Linked DNA regions of Homo sapiens: region 1 is linked to region 2. The links are contacts of gene promoters, found by promoter capture Hi-C in blood cells and fetal thymus (Javierre and others, 2016). All regions are on one chromosome and are shown on one strand. Each heading gives the region's core, a stretch centred on a gene start or on the middle of the fragment in contact. The rest is flanking DNA. Distances are from core to core; before and after follow the strand shown.

The links. Contacts are between HindIII fragments. The CHiCAGO score rates a contact against its expected background, and 5 or more counts as called.
Region 1: a fragment that was not itself captured here is called in contact with the fragment with the promoter of USP37 in region 2 in 1 of 17 cell types (endothelial precursors); the score reaches 7.3 in endothelial precursors.

Annotation. Positions count from the first base shown.
Region 1 is chr2:218,635,274-218,641,409 of GRCh38, forward strand. ZNF142 (zinc finger protein 142) reads right to left here. Exons shown (of 11, transcript NM_001379659.1): 10 at 5,391-5,496; 11 at 1-3,535. The coding sequence ends at 3,066. PLCD4 (phospholipase C delta 4) reads left to right here. Exons shown (of 16, transcript NM_032726.4): 14 at 523-658; 15 at 970-1,119; 16 at 1,198-1,902. The coding sequence ends at 1,304. Among named protein-coding and RNA genes, the nearest start is that of ZNF142, 21 kb to the right of the region's middle. The HindIII fragment of the contact is 3,761 bases long and covers 1,402-5,162 here.
Region 2 is chr2:218,563,933-218,570,537 of GRCh38, forward strand. USP37 (ubiquitin specific peptidase 37) reads right to left here and starts at 4,419. Exons shown (of 26, transcript NM_020935.3): 1 at 4,246-4,419. CNOT9 (CCR4-NOT transcription complex subunit 9) reads left to right here and starts at 4,907. Exons shown (of 8, transcript NM_005444.3): 1 at 4,907-5,046. The coding sequence starts at 5,023. RefSeq lists enhancers at 4,262-4,889, 4,890-5,517, 5,312-5,501 and silencers at 4,382-4,451, 4,542-4,601. The HindIII fragment of the contact is 2,574 bases long and covers 3,171-5,744 here.

The DNA.
Region 1 (6,136 bases), core at 2,032-4,531, 70 kb after region 2:
AAAAAAAGTGGCTGCTGTCATTAGCATGCCTACTTTCAAACTGTTGAATTTCTACCTGGATCCATTTAATTTATTTGTTTATTCTGAGACAGAGTCTTGCTCTGCTGCAGGCTGGAGTGCAGTGGCATGATCTTGGCTCACTGCAACCTCCGCCTCCTGGGTTCAAGTGATTCTCCCATCTGAGCCTTCCGAGTAGCTGGGACTACAGGCGCCCGCCACCATGCCTGGCTAATTTTTGTATTTTTAGTAGAGATAGGGTTTCACCATGTTGGCCAGGCTGGTCTCCTGGTTTCAAGTGATCTGCCCACCTCGGCCTCCTGAAGTGTTGGGATTACAGGTGTGAGCCACCGTGCCCGGCCTTTGGGTGCATTTTAAATTGCAGATAGAATACTAGAAGAAAATATATTACCCATGGAGGATGTTTTACAAACCAAAAAGCTTCTTCTCCCCTGGGGTTGGGAGTAGGGTCGGGTGGGGCTGGGCTGAGCAGGAACTTGTGAGATTCCAGAGCCCTGACTACAGGTGATCAGCGGTCAGCAACTCCCCAAAGTGGACAAGACCAAAGAGGGGTCCATTGTGGATCCACTGGTGAAAGTGCAGATCTTTGGCGTTCGTCTAGACACAGCACGGCAGGAGACCAACTATGTGGAGAACAATGGTGAGAAACTGGCAGTGCTGGGGAGGTGGGGGTAGGAGCATGATTAGTTTTCCTTCTAGTCTGTCTTCCATTAAGTATAGCATCTGTTATTGCATGTCCCCACATGGGAGGCAGTGTGGAACAGTACAAAGAATCCTGGCTCTTCACTTAAAAGCTCCAGTGACCTGGGCAAATTACTTGCTTACTCTGAGCCTTTTTCCTTACCTGTAAAATGCTGATTGCCATCTAGATTAAATGAGAACACAAGAAAAGCAACCCAGTCAAGAAAACTGTCATAATGTCTTCTTATTTCTTTCTGTCCACCAACTCAGGTTTTAATCCATACTGGGGGCAGACACTATGTTTCCGGGTGCTGGTGCCTGAACTTGCCATGCTGCGTTTTGTGGTAATGGATTATGACTGGAAATCCCGAAATGACTTTATTGGTCAGTACACCCTGCCTTGGACCTGCATGCAACAAGGTGAGCCAGCCCCTTTGGCCCCTGGCCAATACCCCAGCTCTGGCTGCCTTCCTAATGCTGTCCTCCTGCCCCTTCCAGGTTACCGCCACATTCACCTGCTGTCCAAAGATGGCATCAGCCTCCGCCCAGCTTCCATCTTTGTGTATATCTGCATCCAGGAAGGCCTGGAGGGGGATGAGTCCTGAGGTGGGCATTTCACGGGAAGGGTTGGTGTGCTGGCTTTAGACGGGGAGAAACATCTGGAAGGATGCTCGAGAGAACAAATGGAGGTGGTGAAAATCAAGCTTTGGATTGTGCATTCCTAGGCACAAAATTACCTCATTCTTCCTAACAAGCAATCTGGGACCTGATTTTCCACCTTTTTTCTCTTTTCTTCCCTTCCTTTGTTTTCATAAGCCTTTGGTATCTTTCCTGCCCTTTTCCTTTGTGTACTCTATACTGGAGTTCCCTTCTTCCTCTTGCTGTAGGCTCAATCCCATACCGACATCTACAACTAATCTTTCCCATCAACTCTGTGTGAAGGCAGGTTGCAACTAGAAATTCAGAGGGGCTTGGAATAGAGAAACCTAAAGAAGCATCATCCCCTCCATCCCCAACTTCCTCAAAGCCCAAAGCCAAGGGAAGGATAAATCAAGGCTCAAGGCTTCCCCAGCAAAGATTAGGGAAAGAGACTTGACCCCAGGACTGTACTACGACTCTTAAGAGAACACTGCACAGCACTCAAAGTCCCCCACTGGACTGCTTCCTCCTTAGCCCCACTGGTATAAATACATCTCTCTCCAATTTGGCTTCAATATGGTCTGTCATTGTTGGGCAAGAAGGGGAGGTACAAGGGTTGTGGGGACATCTGGGTAGTCAGGTGAGACAAGGAAAAGGTAGAGAAAGAGGTTCCCAGGAGACCTCTTGCATGTGCTACATAGGAAGGACACAGAGTATGGCTTTTAAGAATCAGGGCAAAAGCAGACAAAAGGTTATGTGGTCCCAGCCTTCCTGAAGAGTCTGGCTGGAACCATCCTGGTTTATGTCTGTTGTCCCAGCATAATTATTAATAGTACCCTCTTTAAGTTTTCCCAGTGTGTCTCAGTTTAGATGATCAATTATATAGTAAGGCACTACAGAATTATACTGTGAAGCAGTTATAGAATTCTGAATTGGAGATTTTCCTCTCTAGTCATCTGCCTTTCCATAGTATCCTTGTGCTTTAACACCTTAGTGTAGCTGCTGAGCCAGTCTGAGGATTGATGATGAGCTAAAGTTGCTTCTAGGAGGAGGCTTAGTGGGTAGCAATCCTCCCTCTATAGATACAGGTAGACAAAGGAGCTTGGAAGTAGGGAGCAGGTCAAGGGTCAAGATGGCTCAAGGACAGGGAGAAGGCAGACCTAGGCCTGTTTCAGTATCAATACTGAGTGAAGATGGAAGGGACAAAAGGGAGGCAGAGGTCTGAGAGGGGACAGAGTTGATCAAGATGACAGCCTGGAAATGTTAAGACAGGGATTTGGATGAATCTATAATGTAGTAACCACTTTCTGTTTAACATGCTTTATAGAGCATTAGGCACAACAGCACATGCGGTTAGATACAACTGTTTTTAGAAGATTCTGAAAGAAAATAGGAATTGACACAGTAAGAAGGAAAGAGAAGATGGAGTGGGTAAAATCCAGATCTTATAGCCAGGGACTTTGATGGAGTGATGGTGAAGAAACTGAGAACTTGCAGGTTAAAAACGCAATGTACAGCAATAAGAAATCAACGTTATAGTCCATGTCCCTCTTTTATATGGGTGATAATTTCAAAGTACTATAGCCAGAGTCCCAGGAAGGTTCTAGTCACCCTTGTACCCCAAAAGCCAGTCTTTCCTTAGGCTCTGAGCTCCTCAGGCTAGCGCTGGTCCCAGTCTGCACATCTCAGACCATACCCTCTTCCTATACAGGAGGTGGGGCAGGCTTTCAGCCCTCAGGTCCAGTGTGGGGAGCGGCAGGAGCAGGAGGGCTGGGATCCTCCAGCTGCACATCATGCAGGTGCACTGTGGGGGTGGTGGGGTCTTTGCCCACACCCTGGTTTGGGTCGGCTTGGTCAGGGTGGTGCCTGCGTACGTGCTTGACCACCTGGAACTTTTGCTTGGCCTTGTAGTTGCAGAGGCGGCAAAAGAAGGGGTGGCGGTCGGTGTGGGTGAGGGCATGATGGCGCAGGCCAGCAGCCCAGCGGAAAGCACGGTGGCACACATTGCACACATAGGGTTTGGCCTCACTGTGCTTGCGAAGGTGGGTGCGCAGCAGGAAGCGCGTCTTGAAGGCCTTGCCACACTGCTCACACATGAAAGCCCGTGCTTCTCGATGCCGGGTCTCCTGGTGCACACGCAGTGCATCAGCCCGGTTGGTGCAGTACTCACACTCGGGACACTGGTATGGCTTCAGTCCTACAGGACAGGGAACAAATCACCATTGAAAGGCGGTGGAGCAAGGTTTACTGGGCCATGGAGTTACTGCAATCAGTGGATATAAAGAATGCAAGCAGCAAGTTGACTAATGACCATCTCTTTGGAATGCTCCAGTCCTCCAGTCCTGTCTGACATTTCTTTTTTCTTTTATTTTTCTTTGAGACGGAGTTTCGCTCTTGTTGCCCAGGCTGGAGTGCAATGGTGCAATCTCGGCTCACTACAACCTCCGCCTCCCAGGTTCAAGTGATCCTCCTGCCTCAGTTTCCCAAGTAGCTGGAATAACAGGCATGGGCCACCACACCTGGCTAATTTTGTATTTTTAGTGAAGACAGGGTTTCACCATGTTGGCCAGGCTGGTCTTGAACTCTGGACCTCCAGTGATGTGCCCTCCTTGGCCTCCCAAAGTGCTGGGATTACAGGCATGAGCCACCGCGCCTGGCCCTGTCTGACATTTCTGTGCCTTTCCAACACAGCGTCCTTGTACATCAACAAGAACTCAATGTTGTAGTCCCAGCAATCAATGTTGTGGGTGCCCAATGGATGCTGATGATTAACGGGACCTCTAACCAACTAGCTACCTGACAGTAATGAATACTCAAATATGGAAGGGTTTCCCCATGGGAAATTATAACCCTCTTTTGGTCACAGAGTACTCATGGAATTCGACAATTCATTTAAACACAACGGCTTGTTCAACTCAAAAAGTCAAAGACCCAGCCTGGGCAACAAAGTGAGACCCTGTCTACAAAAAAATTAGGTGGGCGTGGTGGCGTGCACTTGTAGACCCAGCTAATTGGGAGGCTAAGGCAAGAAGATGATGTGCACCCAGGAGTTTGAGATTGTAGTGAGCTATGACTGCACCACTGCACTCCAGCATGGGCAGCAGAGCAAGACCCTGTCACTGAAAAAAAAAAAAAAAAAAAGTAAAAGAAATACTTAGGAGGGGCCGAGCATGGTGGCTCATGCCTGTAATCCCAGCACTTTGGGAGGCCGAGGCGGGCGGATCATGAGGTCAGGAGATTGAGACCATTCTGGCTAACACGGTGAAACCCCCATCTCTACTAAAAATACAAAAACTTAGCCGGGCGTGGTGGCGGGTGCCTGTAGTCCCAGCTACTCGGGAGGCTAAGGCAGGAGAATGGTGTGAACCCGGAAGGCAGAGGCAGAACTTGCAGTGAGCTTAGATTGCGCCACTGCACTCCAGGCTGGGCAACAGAGCGAGACTCTGTCTCAAAAAAAAAAAAAAAAAAAAAAAAAAAAGAAATACTTAGGAGGGAAGAGGTAGAGGTGAAATAAGTGGCATTCATAAAAGCAGAGGGCCTTGAAATGCTCCTAATCAATTCCTCCACATAGGGGGATCAGATGCAATAAGCACAGGCACACGATTGTGTGCTTTCAAGAACCGGGTTTGTGGATTCCATCCACACCCAGGAGAAGAAAAGGACAGACTAGAACAGGAGAATCCTTCACTTTCTCCTTTTTAACTCATGATAGTTCCATCATGTCTGTGTAAGAGCCAAGCAAATCTGCCCTTAGTCATACAAGTTTGAGTTGGGGGTTCTCAAGAGGGGAAAAATGACTGACTTCGTAACACAGTCACCTGGGAAGCTTTTGGAAAGTACATATGCCCAGGCTCTCAGGTTTACCCTTCTGATTCTGACAGGTCTTCAGTGGGTTGGGGAGCCATTCTGGCACATACAACCCCACCCTGCTGTCTACTCCCAATGTGAAATTGATGTTGGCCCTGAATTGGAACAAGGACCAACCTTGGTAAGGTTAGGTTTGCCAGGGAACAAAGGAACCCTTCAGGCCTGTCGAAACCACACAGACTCACCTGTATGCTTGGTCATGTGGTATTTCAGCTGGTTGACCCACTTGCACTTGTAGCCACACTCAGGGCACAGGTACTTCCGTTCCTCCTTGTGGATCCGCATGTGGTACTGGAAGAGGCAAGAGCAAAAAGCAGAAAATATAGTAAGTGCTCAATAAATGTTAGCTGTTATTATCCAGGTTATTCTTGCCCTGTTCTATGCCTTTATCATATGGCAAGCAGACATTATGGAACTTTGTTTTTCTTAATCTTCAGTTTACTTGCTAGGGATTTTTTTTTTTTTTTTTTTAAAGAGACAGGGTCTCACTCTGTTGCCCAGGCTGGAGTGAACTGGTGTGATCACAGCTCTCTGCAGCCTTAACCTCCTGGGCTAAAGCGATCCTCCCACCTCAGCCTCCCAAGTAGCTGGGAATACAGGCATGCGCCACAATGTCCAGCTAATTAAAAAAATTTATTTTTGTAAAGACAGAGTCTCCATATGTTGCCCTGGCTGGTCTCAAACTCCTGGGATCAAGCAATCCTCTGGCCTTGGCCTCCCAAAGTGCTAGGATTACAGGCGTGAGCCACCTCACCTGGCCGATAATTTTTTTTTTTTTTTTTTTTTGAGATGGAGTCTCGCTGTGTCGCCCAGGCTGGAGTGCAGTGGCGCGATCTCGGCTCACTGCAAGTTCTGCCTCCCAGGTTCACGCCATTCACCTGCCTCAGCCTCGAGTAGCTGGGACTACAGGTGCCCGCCACCACACCCGGCT
Region 2 (6,605 bases), core at 3,169-5,668:
TGGTGGCACACACCTGTAGTTCCAGCTACTTGGAAGGCTGAGGCAGGAGAGTCATTTGAACCTGGGAGGCAAAGGTTGCAGGGAGCAGAGATCACACCACTACACTCCAGCCTGGGTGAGGGAGCAAGACTCCGTCTCAAAAGAAAGAAAAAAAAAGAAGCTCCCAGACTTCCCTACTTTTGTCCTTCTACCATCATTCAGGCAAGAAATCTTGGCATCAGCTTTATCCTCACTCTTATCTACTCAAATCCCAGATTTTCAATAGCTACTACTCTCAGAAACTCATCACTATGCCATCATCCCACCTAGTATTTATTATGCAACCCAACATTTATTATGCAACATTTACTAAGCAGTGCTAAATGCCATACATGCATTATCTCAATTTAATTTTTAAAATAATCCTAAGTGATAGGGATATTATCTCTATTTCACAGATGAGGAAACTGAGGTTTAGAGACATTACATAATTTATAAATACAGTCAGTGAGAAACAAAGCTATGTCTAATGCCAGAACCTACATTTTTAACTACAACCACAGTTCATCCTCATCAATGAATTATGGCAACCCCTTCCCTTTCCAGTCTCAGCTCTTGGGGTTTTACCTCCAACAAATCCTTTACATTGTAACATCCTTTCTAAAGAACTACTCTTTTTACCACTTTTCAACTGAACTATGCACTAGGTATCTTCTTAACTTTCTCCCTAAGGTGGGAGTGGGGGGTAGAGGTGGGGCACGGGACAGGGAGGTAACACACAGAACTTGGGTACTCTAACTGTATACTCCAACAAAATAACAAACACTTGTTAAGTGCTAAATGGTTGCCATTGATGCTAGGACCTTCCCAAACTAAATAGCTCATCACTACCTAGAAAATAAAATAAATCCAAATGCTTGTGTTTGGTATTCATACACCTCCATTTTAAATTCCCTATTTTTCAACACGAATCCTGTTCTACACATACAAAAATTATTATATTTTAATATTTTCTTTCTTTTTCATTTGAGACAGAACCTCATTCTGTCACCCAGACTGGAACACAGTGGTGCCATCTTGGCTCACTGCAACCTCCACCTCCTAGGCTGAAGCAATCCTCCCACCTCAGCCTCCCAAGTAGCTAGGACTACAGGCACATGCCACCAAACCCGGCTAATTTTTGTAATTTTTTATAGACATGGGGTTTTGCCATGTTGCCCAGGCTGGTATCGAACTCCGGGGCTCAAGCGATCCGCCCACCTTGGTCTCCCGCAATGCTGGGATTACTGGCATGAGCCAATGCAGCTGGCCATATATTAATATTTTCTTTGTCATTCACCAACAACTGACTTAAATATGGAATTTTGCTTTATTTATGGAAATCTCATCTTCACTGGTCTTAAAGATTAACCGGTTGTTAAAATATACAAACCACTACTCTGATTTTTGAAGGCTTTCTTTCCTTTAAAAAGACCTATAAAACAAATGGACAAAGGAGAAAAAATTAGTTTTGTTACTGAAAGTGGAAAGCTGACCTAAAGTTTATCTCCAATTCAAAGAGTTTAAAATCTGAATGGTTTTATGATATAAAAATGGGTAAAAGAATCCAAAGTTGGAAAACGTTTTGTTTTTTCTCATGTGTCCTCTAACTTTTCAGAATGAAAAGTGTTTGTCATGAGATGATGACAAGAACATCAGCAAGCTTTGCTTCCAAAAGACATGATGGTTCTTACAGCAACTTCCAGCTTATTTAACAAATTATTGGGAAATAAAAAAGAAGTGGTCACTAGCCTATATTCTAATAGGAGACAGACTTTAAATAATCACACATGTAAATATATAATTACAAGTTCTGGGCTGGGTGCAGTGGCTCACACCTGTAATCCCAGCACTTTGGGAGGCCGAGGCAGGTGGATCATCTGAGGTCAAGAGTTCAAGACCAGCCTGGCCAACATGGTGAAACCTTGTCTCCATTAGAAATACAAAAATTAGCCGGGCATGGTGGCGGGTGCCTGTAATCCCAGGTACTTGGGAGGCTGAGACAAGAGAATCGCTTGAATTTAGGGGGCGGAGGTTGCAGTGAGCTGAGATCATGCCATTGTACTCCAGCTTAGGCAACAGAGCAAAAACTCCATCTCAAAAAATAATAATAACAATAATTACAAGTTCTGAGAAATGATATAAAGCAAGATACATGGAATGATGAGTCTTAAGATTAAGACTTGGGGTAGAGGATAACATTGAGAAGGCTTCCCTGAGAAGGTATCACTTAAGTTGAAAACTGCAGAAGGAGATGACTGATAGATGGTGGTGCTGGAACAATCCAGGCAAACAGCATCCCCAAAGGCCTTGAATTGTAAAATAACTTGATATGACTAGGGAAATTAAAAGCAATGTGGCTACAGTTTAGTGAAGGAGAGGAGGAAGATGAAGTTAGTGAAGCAGGCAAGAACCAGGTTATGCAGTCTTGTGAACCACAGTAAAGATTCCGAATTTTATCCTAAATGTAACAAGCACTTACCAGGAGGAAATCCACCAAAAGGTTTTAAGCAAAGAAATATGTTACTACTGAATGAGGAAGTCATATATGGTTGGTTTGGGTTTTGGGAGAGTGACTAAGAGCAAGAACAGAAGAAAATAATGTAACCAGATAGAAGAGTATTGAGTTGATCAGCTTATAACAATAACAATTAATGCTTACTGGCCATTTACTCTGTGCCAAGTGCTTATCATGGTTATCTCACTTAATCCTCATAACAATCCAATAGGCTGAAAATTACTATTTCCATTTTACAGATGATAATACAGGAAGCCAAGGCAATCAAGTCCAGGTTTTTTAAGGACTGTGGCTTAAACTAGAAAAGTGACAGTGAAAATGTACAGAAAAAGATGCAAGACACGTATTGGAAGTAGGATAGAACTTGGAGAGAGTAGAAGTCAAGAATGCCTCCCAAGTGTGTAGCCTGTGTCATGTGCCACTTAATAAACTGGGACACTGGAGAAGAAAGAATTTCGATATGGAGAGAAAGATCAAGGCTTTGGATTTGGCTGTGTTGCATCTGAAACTCCTAAGAAAAAAATCAAGTTGAGATGTCAAGCAGACAGCTGGCTATCTAGATGTGGAGCTGAAAACAAAGGGAATAGGCTGGAAATAACAATTTTTAAGTCATCAATATATAGATCAAATTTAAAGCTTAGGGAGGAATATAAGAGTAAAAGAAGAGGACCTAGGACTGAACCCAAATACTCATTTTACTTCATCAAACATCTTTAAGACAAGTGAGTACTTTTATATCACTGGGTTTTTCAGTCCTCCTTCCATTTTACCTTTCAGCAGAATGCAACACTACTGATGACTTTTTTCATGGCTTGCAAGACGCATCCTCCTCTATTGGTTATTAAACAGCAGGAATTCGTCAATGCTCCATCCTAGGTGCCTTTATTTTACAGCACTATACTCTTTTTCGGCAATTTCATCCACATCCATGGCTTCAATTACTATCAATATGGCAGATGACAAACACATACACACACCGCGCACATTTACGTACGCAGCCCAGAACTCTCCTAAGATCTCCAAACCCACTATATCCAACTGCCTACTTGACATTCCCTCTCAGGTATCTCTTCCAGTTAGACACTTGTCAGGAATTGCCACCTCAATAAAGGAATTTATACAGAGCTGAAATTTTGAGAGGAATACCCCAAAACCACTTTAGGACAACTCTTCAGGACACAGGATTTTATCATCAATCATCATTTCCTTTCATGGATCATGACTTAAAATAGTTACATCTAACAACCTGATCTGGCGGCTAGAAATGGGCGCAAGGAAATGCACAACAAAAATACAATTCATGTTTTGCAGTGAGGACTGGTCAAGAGGAAGGTGAAGATGGTCAAGAGAGTGAATGAGTATCATGTCCAAGGCCTGGTGGATGTGCCGTAACGAAAGTCACCTGAAGAGACAGCAGGCCCTGTTAGAAGGTAAGAGGCGAACGACAACAGCCCCAGAGAAAAGGGGCCAGGTTTGAGTTTCGGAGGGAGCGAGTGGCAGTGGAGACCAAGTCAAAGGAGAGGTGGAAGCCGGGGCAGTGCACCCAAAGGTAGTACCTGTGAGGCTGGGGGTGCATCGAGGGGTTGTGGGCGGGCTGAGTAGCAGCAGGGCGAACTCCAGAGGAGTGAACGCCGAGTGGGCGGATCGCACAGAAGGAGGAGGAGGTAGGGAAAACGGCTCAATTGAGAAGCTACCCCGGCCCGCCTTACCTGCGCCGAGGGTCCGGAGCCCCCGGACAGACCCGCGGAAAGCACGGAGCCCGCGAGGAGTGGGAGGAGCCGAGGGTAATGGAAGTAGGGATACCGAACCCAAAGGAGGGAGGCCGCTAGCTACCCCTAGTCAGGGAGAGCGGCTGATGGCGGGAACTGTGACCACACGCAAACACGCACGCACGCACGCACACTCGACGCGACCAGACAGGCGCGTGCGCGTCAGTCGAAAACTCCGCCCCTCACACGCCCTCGCCCCGCCCCGCCAGTACCTAGAGCGGCCTAGCCCGGGCAGCCCCGCCCCTGCCGTGACTGTAGTAGGCACGCGCACTTTCCACCTCACCCGATTTCGACGCCCCCCCACCATTTCCCTCCTACGCAACCCAGTCGGGCATGCGCAATAGTTGTCTTGCCGGGACTGTCCATCTTTTCCCGCCGTTCACTGGCTTTTGGAGGAGGGTCAGAGTTCACGCCGCTCTCTGGAAATAACTGCTCAAAGCCAGAAGTTGCGGGGACTAGTGGTCGCGGACGTCCTTCCGGTCCTAAATCTTAAGGGGCAAAGGACATACTCTGGGACTGTTAACTAGGCCCTGGAGGCGGGAAGAGGATGTGTGGGTGGGGTCAGGGGTGAGAGGTCAGAGGGCCGCGAAGTGGGCGGAGCGAGCCGGAGTCGGATGGCGGCTACGGCGGCTCATTGTTTTCCGCTGCAGGGGTGCTGAAGGGGGGACGCGGGTCGGACGCGTCCGGCTGTGGAAGAGAGCGGCGGCCGCTCACAACATGCACAGCCTGGCGACGGCTGCGGTGAGTGGCTGGGCCCCCAGGCTTGGAACCAGAATCCTTTCTCAGACCCACGTTTCGGCCTTCTCTCCTAATTCCCGGTGTCGGGTCCCTAGTCTGATTTTTTTCTGCCCTCAATCTCCAAGGCCCCGGTTCCCCTCCTCGGCACGCTTTGGTTGTGGTGGAGCCGGCCCCTATTTCCTTGCCGGACGCCTCTCGCGGCCTTCAGCGCGACCCATCGCGTTCTTTGCGGGCGCCGGGGCCTGGTCCCACGCCCGTAGCAGGCCATTCATTGATTTATTGCGCTGACCAACAGTTTCAGGGCGCCAGTTGTGTTCTGGGCGCCGGCGTCGATGAGGGGAATTCCATGGTCAATCTGACGCGGCCCCTGCTCTTAGAACTCACCACGTCGCAGCGGGAAGGAAATGGCTTCTAGTTCAAACCACTTGCTTTATTTATGGAAAACCTGAGGCCCGGAAAAGTGCATAATTTTTGCATCTGACTTAGGTTCTCTGCATTTAAAACTTTTCCTCGACACATCTCGTTTTACCCGCGTGATCTTTTAACAAAAAAGAAAGATAGTGTAATTCAGCTATCCGAAGTAATCCTACTTCTCTTGGCATTTAAATAAAATCTAGACTCCTTGCCATAGCCTGCACGGCCCTGTATGATGTGGTACTTAACCCACGTTTATAATCTCGTTTTATGTCTCTTGCTCCTAAAGCTTCAGCTACTCTGGCCACCTAACCCTCTGCAACGCGCTTATTTTTCTCCAAGATGCACTTTGTGGTCTCTATGCCTGGAGTGAATGTTCTTCTTATCCCTCCTCCTTTACATACACAGCATGAGTGTAATTGGTACCTCTTCCTTGAACTCTCCTTCCTCTCCTTAAACTGTTTATCCAAATCCATCTTTCTTCAGGTCTCTGCCTAAATCGGTCTCAGAGTGGCCTTCCCTGACTATCCTCTTCAAATTAGTTCCGCAGCCTCTAACTTTAGTAGAGTACCCTTTACAGCCCTGATCCCCGTGTAATTATTGTATTCGTTTATTTGTTGTCTGTCTCCTTGAGGGCAGGGACAGGGATCATGTGAGCCCTGTTGACGTGGTTTCCCCGGTGCCAGGACAGTTCCTAGTACAAGATTAAAGACTCAGATACTTTGCTGCATGAAAGAATATTGAAGGGAAGGTGACCACTGAAAGAACATTGCCATGATGGGGAAAGGAGATCATTTGATTTGAGCATACCTGCCTGAAGACCAATTCTGCTTTTTCTGTTTAACCAAAGGGAAATGATTTAAGGAAAGTAATGTACTGAAATTGTATTATCAGGCAAAATGACGTAATTACTAAATAAAGCACCAAAAATTGCCATACGTTTAAGTACAAAAAGTGAAAAATTGAGCCAAGTATGACTAAGCTATAGAAAACTGCTTTTTGAGATTTGATCTCCATTGTCAGTTCCAGTGCTGTTGGTATCTCTGCCTCCTTTCATACTGTTTCTAAGTGTTTGTAACTATTCAATGTAGAGAGTATCTTTTATATCTCAATTAGGTCATTGCAATTCCCCTAGCTTTTTTGTTCCT